Regions from separate parts of the Homo sapiens genome. Here regions 1, 2 and 4 are each linked to region 3. The links are contacts of gene promoters, found by promoter capture Hi-C in blood cells and fetal thymus (Javierre and others, 2016). All regions are on one chromosome and are shown on one strand. Each heading gives the region's core, a stretch centred on a gene start or on the middle of the fragment in contact. The rest is flanking DNA. Distances are from core to core; before and after follow the strand shown.

What was found. Contacts are between HindIII fragments. The CHiCAGO score rates a contact against its expected background, and 5 or more counts as called.
Region 1: a fragment that was not itself captured here is called in contact with the fragment with the promoter of KCNH3 in region 3 in 1 of 17 cell types (endothelial precursors); the score reaches 5.1 in endothelial precursors.
Region 2: a contact is called between a fragment that was not itself captured here and the fragment with the promoter of KCNH3 in region 3, in 9 of 17 cell types (endothelial precursors, M1 macrophages, activated CD4 T cells and 6 more). The highest score is 7.6, in endothelial precursors.
Region 4: a contact is called between a fragment that was not itself captured here and the fragment with the promoter of KCNH3 in region 3, in 16 of 17 cell types (endothelial precursors, M2 macrophages, M0 macrophages and 13 more). The highest score is 16.2, in endothelial precursors.

Annotation. Positions count from the first base shown.
Region 1 is chr12:49,393,029-49,400,203 of GRCh38, forward strand. The region is part of intron 2 of SPATS2 (spermatogenesis associated serine rich 2); the gene reads left to right. Among named protein-coding and RNA genes, the nearest start is that of SPATS2, 29 kb to the left of the region's middle. The HindIII fragment of the contact is 961 bases long and covers 5,250-6,210 here.
Region 2 is chr12:49,370,911-49,377,768 of GRCh38, forward strand. SPATS2 (spermatogenesis associated serine rich 2) reads left to right here. Exons shown (of 14, transcript NM_023071.4): 2 at 318-380. Among named protein-coding and RNA genes, the nearest start is that of SPATS2, 6.9 kb to the left of the region's middle. The HindIII fragment of the contact is 1,464 bases long and covers 4,775-6,238 here.
Region 3 is chr12:49,537,074-49,543,773 of GRCh38, forward strand. It overlaps KCNH3 (potassium voltage-gated channel subfamily H member 3), which reads left to right and starts at 1,957. Exons shown (of 15, transcript NM_012284.3): 1 at 1,957-2,419; 2 at 3,826-4,059; 3 at 4,557-4,691; 4 at 5,633-5,766; 5 at 6,202-6,445. The coding sequence starts at 2,344. RefSeq lists silencers at 918-1,037, 1,768-1,947 and enhancers at 1,265-2,076, 2,077-2,886, 3,531-3,580, 5,387-6,586, 5,933-6,700. The HindIII fragment of the contact is 19,285 bases long and covers 1-6,700 here.
Region 4 is chr12:49,358,979-49,365,743 of GRCh38, forward strand. No RefSeq gene overlaps it. Among named protein-coding and RNA genes, the nearest start is that of SPATS2, 5.1 kb to the right of the region's middle. The HindIII fragment of the contact is 5,412 bases long and covers 1-3,964 here.

The DNA of each region.
Region 1 (7,175 bases), core at 4,480-6,979, 140 kb before region 3:
GCAAAACTGTGAAACTCCATCCAAAAAAAATAGTAATATAGAAACATCTGTGTACTCACCAGTGCTTTGTCTCACCTTAATTATGCCAATTGGAGTCGTATTTTTTTTTAATTGTGGACATTTTCAACAATAAAAATGGAAAGAATAATATAATTAACTCCCCTGTAGACTCATCTAGCTTCAGTGATTATTAAAATTTTTTCCATTCTTAGTTTCCTCTGTTCTTCCCACTCACTACTTTTCATGAGTATTGTCAACATTATCCATCCTTTTCTAAAAGTTCTCCATCAGCCTTTCATTCAGTGATTTTAGCAGCCATTGATTGTTGACTAGATCCATTCTTACATTAAGGCATACAAAATAGGGATTTTTTTCTAATTTTATTATTATTCTGTATTTATTAGGTAGAATTTTTCTATAAAGAAGACTTTTTCCTTCATTGACTTTTTTATTACTTTGAAATATGGTTTGTACAGGAAGGGCAGAATTATTTCTCTTTGTTCGTATTTAGAATAATGAAATGACTTAGTGCCCCACTAACCTCCAAAAATGACTAATGTGTTTTGTTTGTTTTAGAGTGTGATTATAAATTAATGGATATTTATGTATTTAATATGTTTCAGGCACCGTAGACATTATTCTTATTGATGTTCATATTGTGTCATCTTAGTTCAGTGGGAACCCATTTAATTTGGCTCCTTTGTCCTTTTGATGTGACCCCAGTAGTCTTTGATAGCTTTTCTGTTTTATAGCACAAGAAAACCGAGGCTCATCTATTTGTTTCCTTTCAATAGCAGGCCACCATGTCCTGCTATTTTTATGTTTATTTTTATAGAGACAGGTTCTCCCTATGTTGCCCAGGCTGGTGGTGTTGAACTCCTGGACTCAAGTGATCTTCCTGCCTCAAGTGATTTTACTGCCTCAGATTACATGCGTGAGCCACTGCTCCTGGCCAGCCCTACAACTTCTTTTTCAAAGTCGTTTTTACTATTCCAGGACTTTTGCATTTTCATATGGATTTTAGAACTAGTTTGCTGGGCTGGGAGTGGTGGCCCACACCTGTAATCCCACCACTTTGGGAGGCCATAGTGGGAAAATTGCTTGAGCCCATGTCACCTGGGCAACATGGCGAAACCCTGTCTCTACCAAAAATACAAAAATTAGCCGGGCTTCATGGTGCACACCTGCAGTCGCGGCTACTTGGGAGGCTGAGGTGGGAGGGATCCCTTGAGTTTAGGAGGCAGAGGTTGCAGTGAGCTGAGATCGAGTCACTGCACTCCAGTCTGGGGAACAGAGCAAGACCTTGTCTCCAAAAAAAAAAAAAAAAAACAGAACTAGTTTGCTGGATTCTGCAAAAAAAGTCTGCTGGGATTTTGATTGAGATTGCATTAAATCTATTGAATCAGTTTGGGGAGAATTGGCATGCTGACAACATTGAATCTTCTAACCTATGACCAGATAGATATATAACTCCTTTTATTTAGGTCTTTAATATCTCTCCATGATGTGTAGTTTTCAGTGTTCAGATCTTTCACATCTTTTTTTTTTCAGATTTATCTTTACAAATTTTATATTTAATGCTTTGTATTTATAGTTTTAATTAGTGATTGCTTGTTGCTAGTATATAGAAATATAATAGATTTTTCTGTATTGACCTTGTATCCTGCAACGTTGCTAAACTCATTTATTATTATTTTTTAGATTTTATCAGATAGTTTTTTCACAGATGATCATGTCATCTATGAATAAAGACAATTTTAAGGCCGGGCGTGGTGCCTCACGCCTGTAATCCCAGCACTTTGGGAGGCCGAGGCAGGTGGATCACCTGAGGTCAGGAGTTCGAAACCAGCCTGGCCAACATAACCCTGTCTCTACTAAAAATACAAAAAAAAAATTTAGCTGGGCTTGGTGGCAGAGGCCTGTAATCCCAGCTACTCAGGAGACTGAGGCAGGAGAATCCCTTGAACCCAGGAGGCGGAGGTTGCAGTGAGCCGAGATCCCACCACCGCACTCCAGCCTGGGCAATAGAGCGAGACTCTGTCTCGGGGGATAAAAAAAGACAATTTTATTTCTTTTTCTTTTTTCTTTTTAATCTGGATTCCTTTTAATTTTTAATTTAAAATTTTTTTAATTTAAAGTATTTTTTTATTTATAGAGATGGAGTCTTGCTATGTTCCCCAGGCTAGTCTCAAACTCCTGGCCTCAAGTGACCTCCTGTCTTGGCCTTCCAAAGTGCTGGGATTATAGGTGTGAGCCACTGTGCCCAGTCTTCTTTTATTTCTTTTTCTTGCCTGATTGCACTGGCTGGGACCTCCAATACAATGTTGAAGAGAAGCAGTGAAAGTAAATATCTTTGTGTTGTTCCTATCTTAGAGACAATACTACCTTGTTTTTCAGATTTTTTTTTTTTTTTTGAGACAGAATCTCACTCTGTTGCCCAGGATGGAATGCAGTGTCATGATCTTGGCTCACTGCAACCTCCTCCTCCATGATTCAAGTGATTCTCCCGCCTCAGCCTCCCGAGTAGCTGGGATTACAGGCGCCCATCACCATGCCCACTAATTTTTTTGTATTTTTATTAGAGATGGGGTTTCACCATGTTGATTAGGCTGGTCTTGAACTCCTGACCGCAGGTGATCCACCCGCCTCAGCCTCCCAAAGTGCTGGGATTACAGGCATGAGCCACTGTGCCCGACCCAGATTGTTATATTACTTCTTTTTGGTAGTAAGAACACTTAACATGAAATCTACCCTCCTGACAAATCTTTTGTTGTACAATACTGTAATATTAACTATAGGGACAGTGTTTTACAGCAGACCTGTAGAACTTAATTAGCTTGTGTAACTGAAACTTTATACCCACTGAATAGCAACTCTTTGTTTCCCCCTCTTCCCAGCCCCTGGCAACCACCATGCTACTTGATGCATCTGTGTGTTTGAGTATTTTATATACCTCATATAAGTGGTATCATGCATTATTTGTCCTGTGACTGGCTTTCACTTAGCATAGTGTTTCAGGGTTCATCCATGTTGTCACATGTGGCAGGATTTCCTTTTTTAAAACTTAATATTCCATTGTATGTGTATACTATATTTTCTCACTAATTCATCCGTTGATGTACATTTAGGTTGTTTCCACATCTTGGCCATTGTGAATAATGCTACAATGAACGTAGGAATGAAAATACCCCTCAAGATCCTGATTTCAGTTCTTTTGGATAAATATCCAGAAGTGAGATTAGTGGATCATGTCATATGTTTTCCATAGCAGCTGCACTGTTTTACATTCCCACCAACAGTGTACAAGGGTTTTAGCATCTCCTTGTCTTCATCGTGTTCTTATTCTTGGGGTGCTGTCTTTGATTGCTGATTTCCTCGTGGGAGGTTTGTTTCTCTGTCTGTGTATGTGTGTGTATTTTCTTTAACCCTGAACTTGAGTCCTATGTACCTCAGATTGTGGAAGCTTCCCTACTGCATAGTTTCTCCTTTGCTTCTACTATGGTACTATTTCATTCTTTAGTTCTGAATCTTATTTATGATAAAGTGTCAGCTTGGGGTCCCTCTACCACATGTGTAGTATGAATTTAGATCTCACATCTGTGAATGGTGCAGGACTAGGATCCAGTTTCTTCCAGGTAACTTTTTCCATTCCTAGTCCCAAATGCAAGGCTTTCTCTTCTCCTAGCTAGAGAGCTGTTTCTACTTCGCATTTCATGGATGGAGCAGTCCTTTTTGTTTCTTAATTTATGCTCAGTTCCATCTTGTTTTGGGCTGAGTACATGGCCTGTGGCCTAAACTCTTTTGTAACTCCTAGCGATTCAGGTATTCATGTGTATCATTTGTCTTCAGCTCTGGACTTCAGCTCTGTAATAGCCTTTTAAATGAGCTCCTCTGATTCCACTCTTGTACCCCTAATAATCCATTCCCAACACAGTGATCATTAATATATTTACATTTTAGTGCCTGTGTTTTTAGCTTCATCTGGCACCATTCCTACCCATGCTACCTGGCCATTTATTTCCCTAATGCCTTGTGTTCCCACTCGCTACAGGGCCTTTGTACTTGCTATTCCCTCTGTCTGGAATGTTCTTCACTGCCACCACCTCTTCTCTTATCATTACCTTCTCATCTTTGGGCTCTGACCTCAGTTATCACTTCCTGAGAGAAGTCTTTGCTGACTCCTCAGTTTGTTTCAGGTTTCCTTCTCCCTGTGGATATCATAGCATCCTAAGCTTTATTTTCATGGCATGTATCATAGTTTTTTATTAGAATGTAAACTGTCTGAGGGTAGGGACTTTGTCTTGCTCATCACTGTATTTCCTGTCCTGAGAAGAGTGCTTATACAAGTAGATATTAAAAAGATGTTTGCTGAGTGGGTGCATGTATTTGAGCGGTTTCCTCCATTAGACTGTAAGCTAGGAAAGTGCAGGACAATTTTGTTTTGCTCACTAGTATATTCCCCAGTGCCTAGTATAGAATCTGGCATATTATAAGTGCTCAATAAATATTTACTGGCTGGCTGAGTGCTGTGGCTCACTCCTGTAATCCCACAGCTTTGGCAGGCTAAGATGGGAGGATCGCTTAAGGCCAGGAGTTTGAGACCAACCTGGGTAACATAACAAGACCCTATCTCTACAAAAAATAAAAAAAAGCTAGCTGGATATGGTAGTGCATGCCTGTAGTGTTAACTACGTGGAAGGCTGAGGTGGGAAGATCACTTGAGCCCAGGAGTTTGAGGCTGCAGTGAGCTATGATGGTGTCATTGCATTCCAGCCTGGGTGACAGAGTGAGACTCTTAGCTCTTTAAAAAAAAAAAAAAAAAAAAAAAAAGGATCCATTGGCCGAGCATGGTGGCCCACATCTGTAATCCCAGCACTGTGGGAGGCCGAGGTGGGCAGATCATTTGAGCTCAGGAATTTGAGACCAGCCTGGGCATCATGGCAAAACCCCATCTCTACAAAAAAATACAAAAATGAGTGGTGTGAGCCTGTGGTCTCAGCTACTCAGGAGGCTGAGGTGTGAGGATTGCTTGGGCCCAGGAGGTGCAGATTGCAGTGAGATCAAGCCACTGCACTCCAGCCTGGGAGACAGAGGGAGACCCTGTCTCAAAAAAAAAAAAAAAAAAAAAAAAAGAAAAGAAAAGAAAAATTTGATGGCTGACTGAATGAATGAATGAATAAGTAGTTTTAAATGAGGATGGGGGCCAGACTAGGGCCAGTTCATAAAAAATTTTATTTGCAATGCTAAGAAGCTTGAACTTGAACTTTATATAAGGGGGTTTTAAACAGGAGAATGACACGAACAGGCTTATGTTCAATGTAGAAGGATCCCCTCAGCAGTTATGTGGAGGCTGGTTGGAACGTTACAGAATATTGGTGTACTCCAGGGAAGATTGAAGTCCTAATAGAAGGAAGGTGGAATGGAGAAGATAAATTCAAGAGAATTTAGAAATAGGTTAGGCGGGATTGTATTGGATGAAGATGGGAGAATAAAGGGAAGAACGCATATCACTTCCTGGGTTTCTTGTTTGGGAGACCAAGTAGTGCCACCCACATAGGCACTATGGGAAGAAGGACAGGCTTGGGAATGGATGAACTTAGTTGAGATGTGTTAAATTTTCAAACATGAGAAATCTGGAAAATTTAATTGATGGTATATTTACTTGGATTACGGATATTCTTTTTTTCCCCTCACACACTTAATCCTTTATATGTAAATACAGAAATCCCACCAACCCCCATGTTTTCCAGAAAATGATTTGAGTTAAACAGCTCTTTTACTAGGAACATGTTCAATTTGAGTTTCCTGTGGGATATCCAGGTGGAGATGTACATTAGGTAATAGGGAGCTTGTTTGAAAAGGTCTATTTCTGTACTATTTCCTACAATTTCAATGAAAACAGCCTGACAATTTTGACTTTTTCTCTCTTAGGCTGTTTTAGCATGCTTTGTCTCCAGTACTTGCAAAGCTGCCCTAGATTTTTCTTCCTTTTGTTTTTGTCCTTCCTCTTTATTTTGCCTTTGCCAGACTCAAGGGCTTCTCACCTTCTGACCCCTGCATTTCCCCCATGTCCACATACGTTTTCGTGTCTTTTTTTCTAATTTTTTTCTCAAAGAGCATATAATTCTTTTTTTTTTCCTTTGGTTTTCAGGGTTCATTTTCATCAAAGTTATGTGTGAATATGGTTTATAGAATCAAATAGTTTTGTAAAGCTTGTTTTAAGAAAGCAGCACTCCTTCCTTTATTTCCCTTTTCTCAGAAGCACTTTTAGCTTTTTTAGTTAATATTTTTATCTCCATTTCTGTAATAACATACTTGTATTGCTATTTCTGATTTCATCAGTTGTAAGATACACCATTACTTGATGTACTACTAGAAAAGAGAAATAAGCCCAAGATGGATAGTCTATTAGGGGCCACGCATAAAGCTGGGAAACTACATGAGAATGGAAATGAGAAGTAAACCCACCATACAGAAAGGCATAGCAAGGCATCTTGTGTCTCAACTTTGATGGTGTGTAGGAGGGCTAAAAACTTTCATGGGAATTTAAACTGGTTCTAGGTCTGAATTCACACTCCCTATGTGGTACAACAAAATTTAAACAGAGATTCTAATTAAAAGTTGTTTCGGATTGGTAGTGCCCCAGGTGCTTGAAAGAAACAAATAGCAATTATAAGATGTCATTAATTGTGCCTGGTTTTCAGAGATGTTAAAATATGAAAAAAATGGCCAGGCGCGGTGGCTCATGCCTGTAATCCCAGCACTTTGGGAGGCCAAGGCAGGCGGATCACGAGGTCAGGAGATCAGGACCATCCTGGCTAATGTGTTGAAACCCCATCTCTACTAAAAATACAAAAAATTAGCCAGGCGTGGTGGCAGGTGCCTTAGTCCCAGCTACTCGGGAGGCTGAGGCAGGAGAATGGCGTGAACCCGGGAGGCGGAGCTTGCAGTGAGCAGCGATCACGCCACTGCACTCCAGCCTGGGCGACAGAGCGAGACTCCGTCTCAAAAAAAAGAAAAAAATATGGTACCATGTACCAGGCACTGTTAGAGTTACAGCTGTGAACAAAACAGACCTCTCTGTCTTCCTTGAGTTTATATTCTGGGGAGGGGAATGTTTTGACAAAGTAAGAATATACATGGTATACTAGATGTTGCAGATATCTAAGTAAGAT
Region 2 (6,858 bases), core at 4,257-6,756, 160 kb before region 3:
GCTGTGTTGCCCAGGCTGGTCCCCAACTCTTGGGCTCAAGCAATCCACCCGCCTTGGCCTCCCAAAGTGTTGGGATTATAGCATGAGCCACCTCACCTGGCCTTTTTGTTTACTTAAAAAAAATTATTGTGGTAAACTATACATAACAAAAAATTTAGCGTTTTAACCATTTTTAAGTGTATGGATCAGTGGCATTAAGTACATTCACATTGCTGTGCAACCATCACCACCATCCATCTTGGGAATTTTTTTATTTTCCCAGACTGAAGCTCTATATCTATTAAACAATAATTCCTTGTTTCTCTTTCTCTACCCAGCTGCTGGCTACCAATATTCTACTTTCTGTCTCTATGAATGTGACTACCCTGGTTACCTCATATGTAAGTGGAATCATACAATATTTACTTTTTTGTGTCTGGTGTGTACCACTTAGCATATCTTCACAATTCATCCATGTTGTAGCATATGTCAGAATCTTATTCCTTTTTAAGCCTGAATAATATTCCATTGTATGTACACATCACATTTTGTTTATCCATTCATTCTCAATGGACATTTGGGTTCCTTCCACCTTTTGGCTGTTGTGAATAATGGTGCTGTGAATTTTGGTGTACAAATACTTGTTCGAGTCCCTCTGTATTGATCCATTCTCATATTGCTGTAAAGAAATACCTGAGACTGGGTAATTTATAAAGAAAAGAGGTTGAATTGGCTCATGGTTCTGCAGGCTGTACAGGAAGCATAGCAGCTTCTGGGGAGGCCTCAGGAAGCTTATGATCATGGCAGGAGGCAAAGGGAAAGCAGGCATGTCTAGGTGGCTGGAGCAGGAGGAAGAGAGAGAGGTGGGGGGAAGTGCTACACACGTTTAAACAACTAGATCTTGTGAGAACAACCCCAGGGGACTGGTACTAACCCATTCATGAGAAACCACCCCAATATTCCAGTCACCTCCCACCAGGCCCCACCTTCAACACTGGGGATTACAATTTGACAGGAGATTTGGTGGTGACACAGATCCAAACTATATCGCCCTCCTTTCAGGTTTTTTTTTTTTTTTTCTATTTACACAGAAGTAGAATTGCTGGATCCTATGGTAATTCTATGTTTAGTTTTTTGAGTAGGCTTGGTTACTTTTATTTTTTATTTGTTTTTTTGGAGACAGTCTTGTTCTGTCGCCCAGGCTGGAGTGCAGTGGCACGATCTCAGTTCACTGCAACCTCTGCCTCCTGGGTTTAAGCGATTTTCCTGCCTCAGCCTCCAAGTAGCTGAGACTACAGGCATGCACCACCACACCTGGCTAATTTTTGTCTTTTTAGTAGAGATGAAGTTTCGCCATTTTGGCCAGTGTAATCTCAAACTCCTGGCCTCAAGTGATCCACCCGCCTCAGCCTCTCAAAGTGCTGAGATTACATGCGTGAACCACTGTGGCCTGCTGAGGCTTGGTTACTTTTAAGCGGTGATTTTGTCATATGCTACCTGAAGGTAGCACTTGATGGTGCTTTCTCTATTGACTTTTTCTGTATTGCTAGCAGGACACTTAGGGTGGAAATGATTCAAAAGGAAATGTTTTACCCAGTTTTCATGTATCCAATGTGGAAGGAACCATTTGTTATATACAGTTCTTTCCAGTTATGTGCAAATATGAATGATCGTCTTAAGAATGCTCTATATGTTATGTAAAATGCGTCAACATTTTTAGTATACTTTGCTGCCTTTGATTGAAATTTAGGGTACTTTTTTCATTTAAACATGTTTTACATGTATGAGATGCTGCTTACTGCTTACCTTCTGTATCTTCCTGCATTCATTAAAAAAAAAATTTCGTGTCTGCTGTATGCTTTAAATATTTCGAGCGGATACCTGGAATACATAGAATAGAAAGTAAGATTGGTTGAAGTCATTTGGCTCCATTTTCTCTCCCTCCTTGTACAGTATGCAAGCTGTAACATAATACCAAATATAATAGGTTGAAATGGCTGCAGTGAACTGTCTCTTAGGATGAGCCTAGCCTCTCATTTGATTTTCTGTTTTGTGTGTGTGTGTGTGTGTGTGTGTGTGTGTGTGTGTGTGTGTGTGTGTGTGATGGAGTTTTGCTTTTGTCGCCCAGGCTGGAGTGCAATGGCGTGATCTCAGCTCACCACAACCTCCACCTCTCGGGTTCAAGCGATTCTCCTTCGTCAGCCTCCTGAGTAGCTGGGATTACAGGCAAGTGCCACCACGCCCAGCTAATTTTTTGTATTTTTAGTAGAGAGGGGGTTTCTTCATGTTGGTCAGGCTGGACTTGAATTCCCAACCTCAGGTGATCCACCCGCCTCGGCCTCCCAAAGTGCTGGGATTACATGCTTGAGCCACAGTGCCCAGCCTCACATTGCATTTTCTAAATGTTACATGGAAGTTAATTATCCCTGCATCTTGCTTCATGATATTATTGGGTGACATAGTTACTTCAGGCTCATATGCCATTTTCTGGGGGCCTTATAGGAGACTTTGTGAGCCCACACTTACTTTGTAGGTGGTCTGTCTGAAACCCAGTCCAATTGCCATTCAGTTGAATTGAATCTGAAATATTTCTAAAGATTTGATGTTTGTTGGGGGCTGGGCATGGTGGGAGGCCACTTTGACCTCAGTCCTAGCACTTTGAGAGTCCAAGGTGGGAGGATTGCTTCAGACCAGGAGTTTGAGACCAGCTTGGGCAACAGCGAGACCCTGTCTCTGCAAACAATTAAAAAATTAGAGCTGGGCATGGTGGCTCAAGCCTGTAATCCCAGCACTTTGGGAGGCCAAGGTGGGCGGATCATCAGGTCAGGAGTTCTAGACCTGCCTGGTCAATATGGTGAAACCCTGTCTCTAATAAAAATACAAAAATTGGCTGAGCGTGGTGGCATACACCTGTAGTCGCAGCTACTCGGGAGGCAGAAGAATTGCTTGAACCCAGGAAGCAGAGGTTGCAGTGAGCCAAGATCATGCCACTGCACTCCAGCCTGGGCGACACTGCGAGATTCCAACTCTAAATAAATAAATAAATTAGCTGGTCATAGTGGTTGGCGCCTGTAGTCATAGCTTTTCTGGGGAGGATGAGGCAAAAGGATTGCTTGAGCCCAAGAGTTTGAGATTGTAGTGAGCTATGATCATGTCACTGCACTCCAACCTAAACAACAGAGACCCTGTCTCTAAACAATAAAAAAAAAAAATTGAAGTTTATAAATATGTTATTATTTTTTAATTTTTATTTTTTTTGGAAACAGGGTTTTGCTCTGTCACCCAGGCTGGAGTGCAGTGGTGCCATCATAGTTCACTGCGTCCTTGAACTCCTTGAACTCAGGTGATTCTGTCACCTCAGCCTCAGTAGCTAGGACTGCAGGCACACACCATGGCAGTCAGCTAGTTTTAAAATTTTTTGTAGAGACAGGGTCTTGCTTTGTTGCCCAGGCTGGTCTTGAACTTCTGGGTTCAAGCGATCCTCCTGCCCTTGGCCTTCCGAAGTGCTGGGATTACAGGTGTGAGCCACAGTGCCCAGCTCACTTTATTATCTTTAGCCACTGGATATTAAGGATAGGCCAGAAGCCAGCATTTACTCTCCCATGTTCACATCTACCATGGCAGCCTATAGGAATGGGTTCCTGAAATATATACCATCTTCTATACAGATTCTTCAGTAGTTGCAGGCCCTTGAAACATTCTGCAGGGTCTGAGGATATAGATGTTACTTAAAGGTAACTTCTGCAGCCATTGTCCTATGACTAATTTGTGGTTAAGACATAAGTTGAAGGCTGGGTGCGGTGGCTCACGCCTGTAATCCCAGCACTTTGGGAGGCCGAGGCGGGCAGATCACTTGAGGTCAGGAGTTCAAGAGCGGTCTGGCCAACATGGCGAAACCTCATCTCTACTAAAAATACAAAAATTAGCCGGGTGTGTTGGTGCATGCCTGTAATCCCAGTTACTCAGGAGGCTGAGGCAGGAGAATCACTTGAACCTGGCAGGCGGAGGTTGCAGTGGGCCGAGATTGTGCCACTGCATTCCAGCCTGGGAAACAGCGAGGATCTGTCTCAAAAAAAAAAAAAAAAAAAAAAAAAAAGGCATAGGTTGATTGGAGGTTTTGGGGGATCTCCAAGGGTTACACAGGGATTCTTAGCAGTCCAAATCCTATAATAAATAACAACCTTGGATTGCTGGTAAGAAGGATGATTTTTACATTACTTAATTAACAAGATGTATGATTGCAAGTTGTGGAGTGTGTGTGTGTGTGTGTGTGTGTGTGTGTGTGTGTGTGTGTGTGTGTGTGTGTGGTGGTAGTGGTCTTTAGAATTTGCTAAAGGGTATTAGGACGGAGGAGAAGGATGTTTGTGATGAGGCCATTATATGATTGTGAATGAGCCAGGATAGATAAGTAAATATCTTTTGTACTTGAAGATGCTGCCAATGATATTACTTCTTACTGACCTGGATAGGACTGAAAAGACCAATTTGTAAAAGCTGCAGTCTTTCCTATTTTAAATAACTTGCTTTTGTTTTAAGGCTACCCTCTGTAGTTGAGCAGTACTTTTCCTTACATTATCCACTTGGTCTCTGATCATAGCATGTCAGTGTGGTTAGCCCACTGCTGGCTCTTCCTGGCCTACTGTTAAAAATGATTCAAAATGTACATTAGTGTGTGGCAGAAGTGACTCTTCTGCTTACCTTGTTTGGATATCTAGTTACATTTTTATAGTAAATTGCTCTTGTAATCTACCTGCATGTCCTGCAGGAGCCCTTTGTATAGCATGCCTTCATAAGAAGCTTTGTGACATGTGATGAAAACAGTGAAACTCATCTGTAACTAATGTAATGACGGGAAGTTAATGTATTGTAGCTGAATGGTAGGTGGGACATAACACTGCAGATGAAGCCAGCCATGTAGCTTAAACTTCTTTTTTTTTGAGACAGGGTCTTGCTCTGTCTCCTAGGCTGGAGTGCAGTGGCACAATCTTGGCTTACTGCAACCTCCACCTCCCAGGGCTTAAGTGATCCTCCTGCCTCAGCCTCCCAAGTAGCTGGGAATGCAGGTGCTCACCATCTGGTACTGCTAATTTTTAAATAGAGACAGGGTCCAGGCTGGTCTCAAACACCTGGCCTCAAATGATCCTTCTGTCTTGGCCTCCCAAAATGCTTGGATTACAGGCATGAACCACTGCACCTGGCCTGATTTTTTTTTTTTTTTTTTTTTTTTTTTAAGATGGAGTTTCACTCTGTCGCCCATGCTGGAGTGCAGTGGTGCAATCTTGGCTCACTGCAACCTCCGCCTCCCAGGTTCAAGTGATTCTCCTGCCTCAGCCTCCCGAGTAGCTGGGATTACAAGTGCCCGCCACCACGCCCAGCTAATTTTTTGTATTTTTAGTAGAGACGGGGTTTCACCATGTTGACCAGGCTGGTCTTGAACTCCTGACCTCAGGTGATCCGCCTGCCTCGGCCTCCCAAAGTGCTGGGATTACAGGCCTGAGCTATCACGCCCGCCCCTGATTTTTTTTAAGTCAGAGTCTTGCTTCGTCGCTCAAGTTGGAGTGCAGTGATGTGATCATGGCTCATTGCAGCCTCCAGATCCTGGGCTCAAGTGATCCTCCCACCTCAGTCTCCCTAGTAGCTGGGAGTACAGGCTCGTACCACCATGCCCTGCTAATTTTTAAATTTTTTATAGAGACAGGGTCTTGCTATGTTTCCTAGGCTGGTCTTGAATTCCTGGCCTCAAGCAGTCCATTGGCTTTGGCCTCTCAAAGTGCTGAGATTACAGGTGTGAACCATTGTACCTGGCCGGTGTTTTGTTGATTTTTTTTTTTTTTTTTTTTTTTTTTGAGACGGAGTCTCACTCTGTCGCCCAGGCTGGAGTGCAGTGGTGCGATCTCAGCTCCACTGCAACCTCTGCTGTCCGGATTCAAGCAATTCTCCTGCCTCAGCCTCCTGAGTAGCTGGGATTACAGGCTCCTGCCACTGTGCCTGGCTAATTTTTGTATTTTCAGTAGAGACAGGTTTCACCATCTTGGCCAGTTTGGTCTTGAACTCCTGACCTTGTGATCCGCCTGCCTTGGTTTCCCAAAGTGCTGGGATTACAGGCATGAGCCACCTCACCCAGCCCAGTGTTTCGTTAATCTTATCAGCACACAGGAGGTTTTCTTTCTTCTTTTTTTTGTTCATCTAGAATATACACACTGAATACACTAGGTTTGTTGAAATGTCTAATTTCTTAAGTTGATAATGCTTTAAACAAAGCTTAGTTGGTTAATGTTTTTCACCTCTGTTATTACTCAAAGGTTGTATTGTATCTAGGAATTTTAAAAGTTGATATTTGGCATTTGTCATTAGCCTACCAGTCCATAATGTTATGATGATCCTATAAATTAGACTATAGGATATTATTATATGATATTATTGTAATTTGGGAGCACAGGGAACAATGCGTAACAACGACTACTAAATGTGTGTTCGGTCTCTAGCCTGATGAAAAAGCTTCTGAAAAAAGGAAGGATATTTGATACTTTCATCCTGATTACTTGTTACCTGAAATCTTAACATTTCAGCAACATTAAGTAGGATTATATTCAATTTTTATATGATTACATTTTTCATTGGGCAGTAAAGCTGAGAACACATCATCCTTTCACACTGTACGGGCTAATTATTTCCATTGTGAAATAGCCCCAAGTATATTATTAACCTTTTTGGTAGCTGAAGTTTCTGATGCCTGAAATGTGTATCTACTGAATGGCGTTAGTTATGATCAGGCCAGTATTGATAGTATAGTTATAATATTTCTATATATAATATGATCAGGCCAATATTGATAGTATAGTTATTTCTATGTATAATATTTCCAATATTTTTCTTTTA
Region 3 (6,700 bases), core at 707-3,206:
TAAAAATCACACAGACAGGCCAGGTGTGGTGGCTCTCGCCTGTAATCCCAGCACTTTGAGAGGCTGAGGCGGGCAGATCACCTGAAGTCAAGAGTTCGAGATGAGCCTGGCCAACATGGTGAAACCCAATCTCTACTAAAAATACAAACATTAGCGGGGCGTGGTGGCGCATGCCTGTGGTCCCAACTACTTGGGAGGCTGAGGCAGGATAATTGCTTGAACTTGGTCGGCATAGGTTGCAGTGAGCAGAGATAGCTCCAATGCACTCCAGCCTGGGCGACAGAGGGAGACTCCGTCACAAAAAAAAAAAAAAAAAAAAAAAAATTCACACAGACCAAAATTAAAAAAAAAATTTAATCACAGGGACAGCAAGTGGCAGACCTGGTTCCCAAGTGGGTGGGTGATTTCAATTGTGGCCTTATCCTGTCTCAAAGTGAACTGACTCCTAAAATGTCCTTCTTTTTAGTAGACAGCTGGACCGCCGCCTGGAGAGGAAGCCTTGAACGGCTGGGGGAGGGGATTACTTTACAGCCAGGATCCAGCCAAGGCTGGGGATGAGATGGGAGTAGGATCTCCCGACTCCTTAGGGTCACTCCTCAGGGTCACTCCTCGTCCTGGGGACCAGATTCCAGGCTTCACAGGACCGGAGAAGGAGGAGCGCGTCCTCCCTTCCCAAAGCGCCAGCTCATTTAGATACAGGTGCCTGGGGCTTTGGCTCTCGTCGCTGATGAGGGGTAGCATCTTTCTGATGCTGGTGACTGTGAGTGCGTCTCGAGGGATGGGGGTGCTGAGCCTACCGCTTCGCTCGTTAGGGAACAAATTGCTGTTTTGGCCCCGGCGGCTCCTCTGGGCGCGGGCGGCAGCCGCGCTCGCTGGCAAATCGTGGGAGGGAGGAGGAGCGGCGCTGGCAGGCAAGTCCGGGGGACCGTCGCAGCGCGGGAGGCCAAGAAAAGACGGCCGCCCCGGGCCCGGCTCCGCCCCGCCGGGAAGGGGCTCCCTGCAGCCGCCCCAGGGCAGCACCCCGCGCGGCGCCGCGCGGAGCTCTCCAGGACGAGCTGCGTGAGGCGCGGGGCTCGGCCTTCCTCGCTCTCCTGGTGCCAGGACCCGCACGCACAAGGTTCGGAAGTTTTTTCGCAGTGTCTGACCCCTGCCGGTCCCCTGTATTTACCACCTGACCCTCTAGCGCGCTTAGGAGAGGCAAGAGGTGACAAATGCCAGAGGGAAATGGAGGGGCAGGACAAGGGGTCTGGCGCTCCCCTCCCCACCACACACCCTTTCCGCCCACGGGGTCACACGGAGGACGTCTGACCCTTACTCCTAGGGCTACCCACCCTCTGGTTTCCAGGCAGCTCCTGCTTGCGGAGACACCTCATAGGAGCAGCTGGATCCATTTTCCAGAGCGTCAAGTTGAGGATGAGAAAGTCTCGAGGGCCGGGCAGCTGTGCGCGCAGAACCCCCGCCCCATCTGCTTTTAGATTTCCCGGGTGCGGCTGGAGCCCCTCTAGAGCGCCGGCCTCCGCTGGCCGCAGGGCCTTCACCTGCGCCTGTCGCCCTGTCCCCTTGCCCACTGCATTTTCCTCGGGGAGAGCATCTTCCACAGCATGCGTCCCCTGCCCCCCACGCCCCGAGCCCCCCTCCCATTCCGCCGGGGGAGGAGAGGCTGCTAGGAGGCTCTCGGAGAGCCCCCGGGCTGCAGAGAAAGACGCCTCCCCTCTGCGGCTGAGGCCGAGTGAGCCAAAGGGGGCCGGCCGCTCGCCAGTGGTTCTCCGAGGTACGGGCGGGGAGGCCCGCGGGGTGGGATCAGGGCGGCCGCCACCTCCCCGCCCCCGCCGAGGTCCCGAAGGGAGGGGAGCCCTCCGCGGGAGGCCTGTCCCTTTAAGGAGGCGGCCCTGGCTGGGTGTGCCCCGTCTCCATGGTTACCCCGGTGCAGGCGGCGGGCGCGGGAGGGAGGGAGGGAGGCTGCAGCTTCTCCCCGACAGACGGAGGGAGCTGCCGAGAGCCGGCGCCGAGCGAAGCCGAGCGGAAGCCCACCCGCAGCCGACACGCGAGCCGCTGCCGCGGCGGGAGGTGCTGAGAGCGCGGCGGCCGCGGGGCCTGGAGCCCGGGATTTGTGGGCGGCGAGGGCGCGAGGGGCCGCGCGCCATGCTCCGGGCCCCGACGGCGCGGACGCCCCCTCGCGCGCCAGCGTCCGGCGCGACCCCGGATCCCGGTCTGCGCATTGCCCCCCGACGGCTGCGCTAGGGAGCGCGGGGCCCGGCGGGGGGCGGCCGAGCTGGGCGCCCTCCCCCGGCGCGGAGTCCCCGCACCCCGGAGGGATGGGGCGGGCAGCCGCGGGCGCCTAAGATGCCGGCCATGCGGGGCCTCCTGGCGCCGCAGAACACCTTCCTGGACACCATCGCTACGCGCTTCGACGGCACGCGTGAGTCCGACCCTCGCCCACTTGCACCCGGGCCGCCGGACCCTCGCCAGGGCTCCCGCCTTCCCCGAACCCCCAGCAGCCCAGCTTGGCGCCAGCCTATTCTCACCCTCTCCTCCCTACCCGCCCCTCTTGAGGCTGGGGCCATCGTCTCCTGCTAGGCGCTGTTTCCCCGAAGGTTCGAAGGTTCGGGGTCAACACTGCTTCAGGCGAGGCAACAGGGCCAGAAGTCCCTGGGTGTGGGTCCTGGGATGCTCTCTGTTAGCCGGGTCTCGAACCCGAACCTAGTCAGTCTGACCCATCCCACCCCTGCGTCTGGCGCTGTCGCAGCAACTACCCTCGGACTGGTGGGGTAAGGCGAGGCGGGTGAACAGTGCTCAGGGACAGCTGAGAGGGCTCAAAACACAGATTTAGAAAAGAGATTTGCAAACGGAGATAAGAGTAGGCGGCACTCGGGAGAGCACCGTGTGTCCAAGCCCCGTGTCTCATAGCCTGAACCCCCTAGACTTGGGGAGGCCATCTAGCCCCAAGAAGATGGTTTGGGGACTCCCATCAGGACTGGGGAAGTTTGGAGAAGGCGCCCCGAGCTCTGGATCCCCGGTTCTGGGGGCTCTGAGCACAGGGGAAGTGATGAAAGCCCCTCCCTCCTCCTCTCCCTCACATCCCCCGTGGGGCTTCCCAGCTCTCTGCCTAGGTCCTCCTTGGTCTCCGGTTCCTGATAGGGGGTGGGAGCCCAGCCCTGCGCTCTCCCCACTCCGGGCTCCTCCATCTGCTTTGCCAGTGTGCTTGGCTCCTGCAGCCTGCTGATTCAGTGCCCCCCACTCCCCAATACATTCCTGGCTCCTGGCTCCCGTGCTCAGTCACCATTCTTACACCCCCATTCTTGATCACATTCACTAATTCCTGAGCCAGGTCAGGCAGCTAGGGCTAAAACACAGACAGCAGGATGTATGGTGGTCTGGGGTTGCCTCCAGTCTAGGTGTGTCTCAGTGGGAGAAGCCAGACAGCCAACCTGGGTACCTGGCTAGTGGGTGAGCCTGGCAGAAGTAGAGGTGGGGCTGAGGCTGGCCCAGAGCTGGCAGGGCAGTCCTCATTAGGGATTCCCCAATCCCAGCCCTTACCCCACATTGCTCAGGACACCCTCCAGAAGGCACAGTGCCCGCACAGCGCTTCATTCACCGACCTCAGTTCACATGTGCTGATCCTTGAATGTACTCACACCTGCTGCAGGGCACTGACAAACAGGTGACACACACTGATTGCTATTCATAAACAGCCCTGCCTTAACACACGCAGGATTCCTGGGGTTTGGAAAACCCACTCTTTGGTTGCAGGCATTTGAGAAAGGAGGGGTGGTAGGCCTCCTGCCCCTTCACCCCACGCCTCCTCTGAGAAGTGCTCTCTTGCAGACAGTAACTTCGTGCTGGGCAACGCCCAGGTGGCGGGGCTCTTCCCCGTGGTCTACTGCTCTGATGGCTTCTGTGACCTCACGGGCTTCTCCCGGGCTGAGGTCATGCAGCGGGGCTGTGCCTGCTCCTTCCTTTATGGGCCAGACACCAGTGAGCTCGTCCGCCAACAGATCCGCAAGGCCCTGGACGAGCACAAGGAGTTCAAGGCTGAGCTGATCCTGTACCGGAAGAGCGGTGAGGGGCCACCTGGCCAGCCTGCCTCACCTTTGCAGTCTCACCCAGCCTGGCACCAGCCCCATCCACTGTCCCTCCTCCTTTCTGTTGCCATCTTCTCCATCTCCCCATGTCATCCCATCTTCCCATCCCCCCATCCAACCCCTCTTGCTCCATCCCACCTCTTGCCCCGGCTCCCCATCTCTACCTGCCTCACCCTAGCCTCAGCCTGCATTCAGTTCCAACCTCGGGTTTCCCGCATCCAACAGAAAAACATCCGCATTTCGGCAGGGCAGATCTACCACACGACAGGTCTGACCGTCATGTTTGCTCTCCCTTGCTTCCTTCCCCCAATTCCATCAAGCCCTGCCTTCAGTGAAACTGGACTGCCAGCCCTTCCCCCAGGAAACCGCTAGATCCTGCCTGTGTCTTGCCCGGGATGTCAGTGGAGCCAGGGCCTCTGTCACCTCAGGCAGTGCTGAGAATAGGAGGTGGGCTGAGTTTGTTTTTGTGCCCAGGGCTCCCGTTCTGGTGTCTCCTGGATGTGATACCCATAAAGAATGAGAAAGGGGAGGTGGCTCTCTTCCTAGTCTCTCACAAGGACATCAGCGAAACCAAGAACCGAGGGGGCCCCGACAGATGGAAGGAGACAGGTAGGTGCATGTAGGTGCTGTGGTCGGGGTATTGGGTGCCGCAGGCCCGGGCGGGGCCTTGGCACCCAGTCTGAGTACGGGGGTCCCCCATGCACCTGCATTCATTTCACTCCCACTCAGGCTGCCTGAGAGGCCTGTGCTGCTCTCATCTCCACATTCCTCGGTATGGGAATATTTTTTCCAAATAGACAGATTGAGACAAAGTTGGAGTTTTTAAGTCAACTTTATTAAGAAACTGAAAGCAAACAAACCCAATTGTACCTGTGAAGCAGGTACTTTCTGACCAGTTAATAAGGTTGAGCACAGACCCACCAGGTTCCTCTTTCCTACAGCAAACCTGACTGGGGGTGGAGCTCTGGGCAAAGCCTGCTTTTAAGTTCTTCGAGTCTTTCCCCTCTTGTGTCCTCCAAGGCTGGGGCAGGCCTTTGGGCAGGTTACAAAGCTGTCAAGGCCTCTTTGCCATTTGGGGATGCTGGGGGTACTCTCCACTCCCACTCGCGTACTCCCAGTGCTGGGTCTGCCTCTCCATGATGTCAGCCTTCATTGTCACCCTCTGGTCCCTGCACTAGCTCCTGGGCTCCTGCTGTAAGTTCCCACACCTCTGCTGACGGCCTCCTGCTAGTTCTCCACCCTGGCCCTGTGAGGTACCTCCTCGCTTCCTGTCCCAGGCCTTTCCCCGTAGAGATCCTCTGGTCCAAACCTCCTCTTCCTGGAAGCAGACCCCAGAGGTAGTGTCTGTAAACACTCCTAGGACTGCCCATTGCTGGGCTGGGCAAGTGAACCCAGGAAGTGAGGAATACCTGAGCCCCCAACTCTAAACATTCTAAGTGGTCAATGAGCCAGACCAGTCCATGGGCCAGCAACTGTGTCCTACACCTGACCCGGAGCTAGGGTGTGTGGGCACACACCCATCATCTTCATGGGCCCCTCTTCTTTCGCAGGTGGTGGCCGGCGCCGATATGGCCGGGCACGATCCAAAGGCTTCAATGCCAACCGGCGGCGGAGCCGGGCCGTGCTCTACCACCTGTCCGGGCACCTGCAGAAGCAGCCCAAGGGCAAGCACAAGCTCAATAAGGTGGGCTCAGCCCTGGGATGTGTGGGAGAGGGGAGGGGCAGACGCAGAAGATGGGGAAGGGGAACCTGATCTACCACAGAGAGAATGTCCTAGGGGCCACCCAGGCCTTGCCAGCACTTTGGGGGTTGGGACTGAAGGAGGGAAGATCACATGCCTGATCCATCAGAAGAAAGTCCTGGCCTGGGAGGCAGATGGGCCTTGGTTCAATCCTGGCTCCTCCCCTAAGCAGCTGTGTGGCCAAAGCTAAGTCACTTAACTTTCCTGATCTTCAGTTTTCTGATCTATAAAATGGAGATGCTAATGCCATCTCGAAGCAGATGCTGCTTCGATAATGCAGGGATAGAAAGGAGGTGGATGCGGGTCCCAGACTCTATCCAAACTCAGCCTGTGCCAATATTCTTTCCTCTCTGCCTGGACCTGCCCTGCCTCACTCAGGGGGTGTTTGGGGAGAAACCAAACTTGCCTGAGTACAAAGTAGCCGCCATCCGGAAGTCGCCCTTCATCCTGTTGCACTGTGGGGCACTGAGAGCCACCTGGGATGGCTTCATCCTGCTCGCCACACTCTATGTGGCTGTCACTGTGCCCTACAGCGTGTGTGTGAGCACAGCACGGGAGCCCAGTGCCGCCCGCGGCCCGCCCAGCGTCTGTGACCTGGCCGTGGAGGTCCTCTTCATCCTTGGTGCGTGCACTCTGCCCCTTCCGCCCCACCCTTTGCTGGCGCCCTGGGGCTTTGCTGGGGATAGTCCACGTGGCTTCCAGGGTGCTACAGTGCCCCCCTCGCTCTCTCTCATTTGTAACCTGTGAGCTTTGAAATCAGACCTAGGTTCCAAACATCTGCCACTTAGAAGTTATATGACCTTGAGCTGGTCAAAGCCTCTCTGAGCCTCCATAAAATAGATTCCCCCTTTGTAAAATAGGCAAAATGATGTCTACC
Region 4 (6,765 bases), core at 9-2,508, 180 kb before region 3:
TGAAGTTGGATTTGGGGTGTTATTCAAAGCAAGCTCCAACTGAAGCATGCTTTTCAGTTGTCATTTAATCTCCTAGGGGAATCTAGAGCTGTCTATTTCATGTTAGAACTTTGAACGCACATCTCATGCCAGTGCTTTGGCTTTTGAAGTTCCCACCCTGAGAAGGTGATTTAAAATGTTTTTCTTTTGCTTCATGTTCCCTGCAGTATTTCTGTTAGTCGCCTCAAGGGATTAAAAGTTGTTCAACTGTTTTGTTTTGTTTTGTTTTGTTTTTGCTAAGATGAGTTTTGAGCAATAAAAGTAAAAAATTTATGTAGGGTTCCAGCTAAAGATACTTCATTTCAATAATTTGTTCTCTCTTTTCTTTCTTATTCTTCTTTTTCCCCACCTCTCATTCACCCTTTCCATAGTCCATCTGGTTATTTGCAAACTATTATGACTCTAAGCAAGGATCTTGGACTTTCTGGGTTTAAACGTTACTGACAAGTTTCAACAGAACAAAGCAGTAAAACAGTGCCCTGTATGGGAAACTTGGAAGGGAATCTTTTTTTTTTTTTTTTGAGACGGAGTTTCGCTCTTGTTGCCCAGGCTGGAGTGCAATGGCACCATGTCAGCTCACCACAATCTCCACCTCCCGGGTTCAAGCGATTCTCCTGCCTCAGCCTCCTGAGTAGCTGGGATTACAGGCATGTACCACCACACCCAGCTAATTTTGTATTTTTAGTAGAGACGGGGGTTTCTCCATTTTGGTCAGGCTGGTCTCGAACTCCCAACCTCAGGTGATCTGCTCGCCTTGCCCTCCCAAAGTGTTGGGATTACAGGCCACCACTCCCAGCCCAGAAGGGAATCTTTTAACCCATTCTGTGCCAGACCTCAGTCCCAATTCTGGGTTGAGAAATGTTGTGGGGAACATCTGCTGGGCAGTGACTGAGTCAGCATGTGAGCCTGGCTTTGCAAGCAACACCTAAAAGGGCATTTTTCCTAGAATCAATGGCTCAGGCACATTTCAGGTGAATTAGTACCAGAAAAGGAACGGGAGCTGGGTGTGATGATGGGCGGAGGCGGGGGGATCACTTGAGCCCGGGAGTTTGAGGCTACAGTGAGTTATGATTCTGCCACTGTACTCCAACCTAGGCAACAGAGCAAGCCCCTGCCTCAAATAAATAAATAAGAAATTTATTAATCTGTCTCAAGAGTGGGGAAAAAAAAGGCCAGGCATAGTGGCTGATGCCTATAATCCTAGCACTTTTGAGAGGCTAAGGCAGGAGGATCACTTGAACCCAGTGGGGAAGATTGCTTGAGTTTGAGACCGGCCTGGGCAACATGGGGAGACCCCATCTCTATAAAAAAAAAAAAATTAGCCAGGCCTGGTGGCTCACACCTGTAGTCCAAGCCACTGGGAAGGCTGCAATGGGAGGACCAGTTGAGCCTGGGAGCTGGAGGCTGCAGTGAGCAATGATCCCATCACTGCACTCCAACCTGGGCAACAGAGTGAGAACCCTGTCTCTTAAAAAAAAAAAAAGGAATGGGGCTTGGCGCCGGTGACTAACGCCTGTAATCCCAGCACTTTGGGAGGCCAAGGCAGGTGGATCACGAGGTCAAGAGATTGAGACCATCCTGGCCAACATGTGAAACCCCGTCTCTACTAAAACTTCAAAAAAATTAGCTGGGCATGGTGGCGCACCTGTAGTCCCAGCTACTTGGGAGGCTGAGGCAGGAGAATCGCTTGAACCCGGGAGGTGGAGGTTGCCGTGAGCTGAGATCGCGCCACTGCACTCCAGCCTGGGTGACAGTGCGAGACTCTGTCTCAAAAAAAAAAGAAAAGAATGGGAAGGGGTTGTGGGACATAAAACGTCTTTGGTTCAGGTGTTTCCCAGTCACAGATCTGAGGGCCACTGAGGCTTGTTTTACTCCCCCACCCCTCCTTCCATATCCTTACCCACTTTAGACGTGGTTTCTCTTGCTTTTTCCTCCCTTTCCCTCCCATGAACCACAGGAGAGAGTGTACGTTTAATATTCAGTAAATTTGATATTCAGTGCCTGCAAACTTACTTCGTCTTAGCAGTTGACTTTTCTTGCACAGCCAAGATGACTGATCATTTCAGACCCATCTCCCTTCAGGCTCTAATTCTTCTCCATCAATGTGTTTGTTTTGATATTTCTGCCTTTGGTTGATGTTCTTCTTCTTTCCTATAATTATTTTTCCTCTCTGCTAAATCTTTTTTTTTTTTTTTTTTTGAGATGGAGTTTCGCTCTTGCCCAGGCTGGAGTGCAGTGGTGTGATCTTGGCTCATTGCAACCTCCGCCTCCTGGGTTCAAGTGATTCTTGTGCCTCAGCCTCACGAGTAGCTGGGATTATAGGCGCCCGCCACCACGCCAGGCTAATATATTTGTATTTTTTGTAGAGACAGGATTTCATCATATTGGCCAGGCTGGTCTCGAACTCCTGACCTCAGGTGAGCCACCGGCCTCAGCCTCCCAAAGTGCTGGGATTACAGGCATTAACCACCATGCCTAGCCTTGCTAATACAAATCTTTACACTTCTTTTATGACCTAGCTTAAGGTTTATCCCTAAATGATGCCTTTGCTGATTAATTCCACCTCTAGTAATCTTTGCCCTTTGAATTCCTTCTGTATTCCCATCTAGTTTGTACTGTTCTATCAATAAGTTTCTTGCATGTTGCCATATAAATTGTTCTCTGTCTCATGTTTGCAAGTCTTCTCTTCTTAACTATACCAAAGCTGCTTGAGGGCAAGTGACTGTGTCTTCTCCTAATGTAAATAGCAGGACATTTATTAAATGTGCAACCTAGGTAAATTATTGAAAAATTTTGAGCTTCAGTTTCCTCATTTGTTACATGAGGACAATGATGCCTGCACCACACAATGTTCAGACAATCAAATGAGACAATGTGTACAGAGTGCTTTATGAAGTATAAAACATTTGACAGAAGTGAAGCATACTATTTTTTTAAAGTGGTGACAGAATCTATAAATGAAAGATAATTTAAAAACTTAATAAAAGAACTTAGAGTACAGCAATATTAGTTACTATCTTACACATAGGACAAATTCACTTAATATCAAAGTCAAGTCTTAATGAACCTGCAAGGCTCACATTGAACTGAATTTTTCAGATCTGAGTTTTGGGTCCAGCATTGCCAATAATTTTGTGATGTAACACTTCAACCTTTGATAGTTTAAGGCCTTTCCCAGCTTTAAATATCTGATACACAAGTGAAAATTTGGGTATGTTAGCCTTGTTTTTGGGCCTCAGTTTTGTTATCTGTAAAATGGGAAATCTGACCTAATTAAACCATTTTAATTGAACTTTATACAATGGATGTTCAAAGACACATTAATTCTGCAAAAAAGTCTTGGGGGTGGGGATGGGAGTGGGAAGAGCTTCCTTGGGGAAAGCTGCACACTACATAGCCTGCTCGCTTCAATATGAACAAAGCATGGTATCATATTAAATATTCTGGGAAGTAAATACACCAGTTTAACTTGATTTTAACCTGTGCTTCCCAAACTTAATTGGACATGGAATAGTTTTCTCAGATAACATCTATTTAGTATCCCATGAAACGAATTTTCTGAGGCACACTTTGGACTGCTAACATGAATATTCTTAGGTACTAGGGTTAGTATAGGCAAAAGGAAAAGTACAATCTTATGAGCTGTTCTCTACTGGTTTTTGTGCCTGTTGTCACTTGCAGCTTCAGTCAATGGAAACTTTAAAACATTATGTTTCTTAATTACAGTCATTGGTTATCAAGTCTCCAAGATAATAAGTTAAATTTTTGTGCCTCTCAGGCTCTAGTTGGCCTCTTTTTCTTCCTAATAAAAACATGGAATCTGGCAATCAATTATTTAAGATACAAAATATCAAGTCAAGGATCCATTTGAAAACATATCAAATTAGGTCAGGTTAATACCTGCAGAATATATCTGCCAAGGTGAAGCTTATGTCATGATTTCTCTCTAATTCTAGTTCTGGCACTTGATCATTAAGTAACATGGGATAAATTAATTTCGTAAGGCTGAACAGAGGCTAATGGATCTCATTTGAAAATGATCTTTTTCTTTTTTAACCCTTAACATCTATGCTAAACATTTCAGAAATTTGGTTATTTTTGTGTTTTCTTCAGCGTAGGTCACAAATATTATATTTTGCATTTATTGCAGCATTTATTTTCCTCCAAAATAATTTATACATGCACTTTGAACAATTTGCAATTATTTCAAGGCAGGTGACGATAAATGTTTTATTGTGAAGTAAAACATACACAGTATGCCGGGCGCGGTGGCTCATGCCTGTAATCCCAGCACTTTGGGAGGCTGAGACAGGTGGATCACCTGAGGTCAGGAGTTCGAGACCAGCCTGACCAACATGGAGAAACCCTGTCTCTACCGAAAATACAAAATTAGCCGGGCGGGGTGGCACATGCCTGTAATCCTAGCTGCTCAGGAGGCTGAGGCAGGAGAATCGCTCGAACCCAGGAGGTGGAGGTTGCGGTGAGCTGAGATCATGCCATTGAACTCCAGCCTGGGCAACAAGAGTGAAACTCCGTCTCAAAAAAATACATAAATAAACATACACAGTAGAAAATGTATGTGCATTATAAAGAACAAAAATAGGCCAGGCCTGGTCAAGCCTGTAATCTCAGCACTTTGGGAGGCTAAGGCGGTTGGATCATCTAAGGTCAGGAGTGCGAGACCAGCCTGGCCAACATGGTATAAACCCCATCTCTACTAAAAATACAAAAATTAGCTGGGCTTGGTGGCAGGCGCCTGTAATCCCAGCTACTCGGGATGTTGAGAGAGGACGATTGCTTGCACCCGGGAGGCAGACGTTGCAGTGGGCTGAGATTGGGTCATCGGACTCCAGCGTGGGCGACGAGAGCAAAACTCCGTCTCAAAAACAACAACAACAAAATTAATATTTGTAACCCAGGTCAAAAAATATTTTTGAAACATTTGTTCAATGTCCCTTTAGAGAGGTTGAGTGCTGCATGGAGAAAGGGCAAAGGTGGGCCATGAGTTGCAGTACCCCTTTTGCAAACCCCACTCAGCAAGACATATGCTAAAGCAACCTGCTCTCCTTGGAGGAGAGATATTTTTTGAGTAAAATCCTTGTGAGGAGGTCATGTTTACTACCACCCCAGGGGCTTAGCAAAATGTGCCTTCCAACCACACCCCAAACTTTCCCTTGGAGGAGACTTGTTAAATGCAATATTCTCCATCTTGTTAGATTTCCAGTGATGTTTTAACAGCTCTCATACCCTAGGGTGCTCCTTAATCTACCTCCCTTCTCTTGGAGAAGGCTATCCACATATACAAAGTGTCTCCTAGCCGGGTGTGGTGGCTCAGGCCTGTAATCCCAGTGCTTTGGGAAGCCCAGGAGGGAGGGTCATTTGAGCCCAGGAGTTCAAGACCAGCCTGGGCAATGTGTTGAGACACCCATCTGTACAAAAAATTTAAAAATTAGCTGGGCGTGGAGGCCGGCGCCATAGTCCTAGCTACTCGGGAGGCCGACGGGGAGGATCCCTTGAGCCCAGGAATTCAAGGTTACAGTGAGCTATGATTGTGCCACTATACTCAAGCCTGGGCAACAGAGGGAGACCCTGTCTCCAAAACAAACAAAAAAGTCTCTCCTATTAGATCAGGGAATCTCTTGGGAGAGGCATCATGTCTTCCCCACAACAGACTACGTTATTAAGAATGGGAACTTTTTTTATTTGATAAGGTCTCATTCTGTTGCCCAGGCTGGAGTGCAGTGGCGTGATCACAGCTCACTGCAGCCTTGACCTCCTGGGCTCAAGGAATCCTCCTACCTCAGCCTCCTGGGCAGCTGGGACAACAAGCACAGCCACCTCAGCCAGCTAATTTATTTTTTGTAGAGACAGGGTCTCCCTATGTTGCCCAGGCTAATCTCAAACCCCTGGGCTCAAGTGATCCACCTCAGCCTCTCAAAGTTTTGGGATTACAGGCATGAGCCACCGAACCTGGCCAAGAATGGGGACTTTATTTTCCAGCCAAAAAACTTGTATTGGCTTTGCAGCACCAACAGGCCCTATAATGAAGGCATTTCCTGAACTGAGTGACTTTTGGTGAGTGAAACCAGTCTTTGTGGAATAGGACTCAAGGCTCGCATCCCACACCTCATGATGAAGTTCTCCATTTACCAGGGTCATATCCTCCTGTTCCTACTCTGTATGGGAAGGAAGGGGAATTGTGCAAGAATTAGTCACTCATTCCTTTCTGTTCCTAAACCACTTTGTACTTTTCTGCTTCAACACTATGTTATTATAGTCATTTAATAACTTATATTTGTTTTTTGTAGAGATGGGGGACCTTGTTATGTTGCTCAGGCTGGTCTCAAACTCCTGGGCTCAAGCAATCCTCCCACCTTGGCCTCTCAAAGTGTTGGGATTACAGGCATAAGCTGCTGCAACTGGCCTATTTAATAACTTTATCCTCCTTTGGAACTGGATACTCTCCTTGGGGTAATGATTTTTTTTATTCTTCTTTGTAAATGTTCGAATACCTAGAACAATACCCACCATCATTGAGTAGGTGCCAATTTAGTGAATGAAAAGAAAGCAGACATTTGGATAATTTGCTTCTATTTGAATTTTTGAATGAAGATTGAATAGTAAGGAACATATAGTCCAGTGCCGTACCTAGCTGGATGACTTCGTCTTCTGCTTATCTAGATCAGTAAATCATATGGTTGGAGTAGATGAGACATTACTAACCAC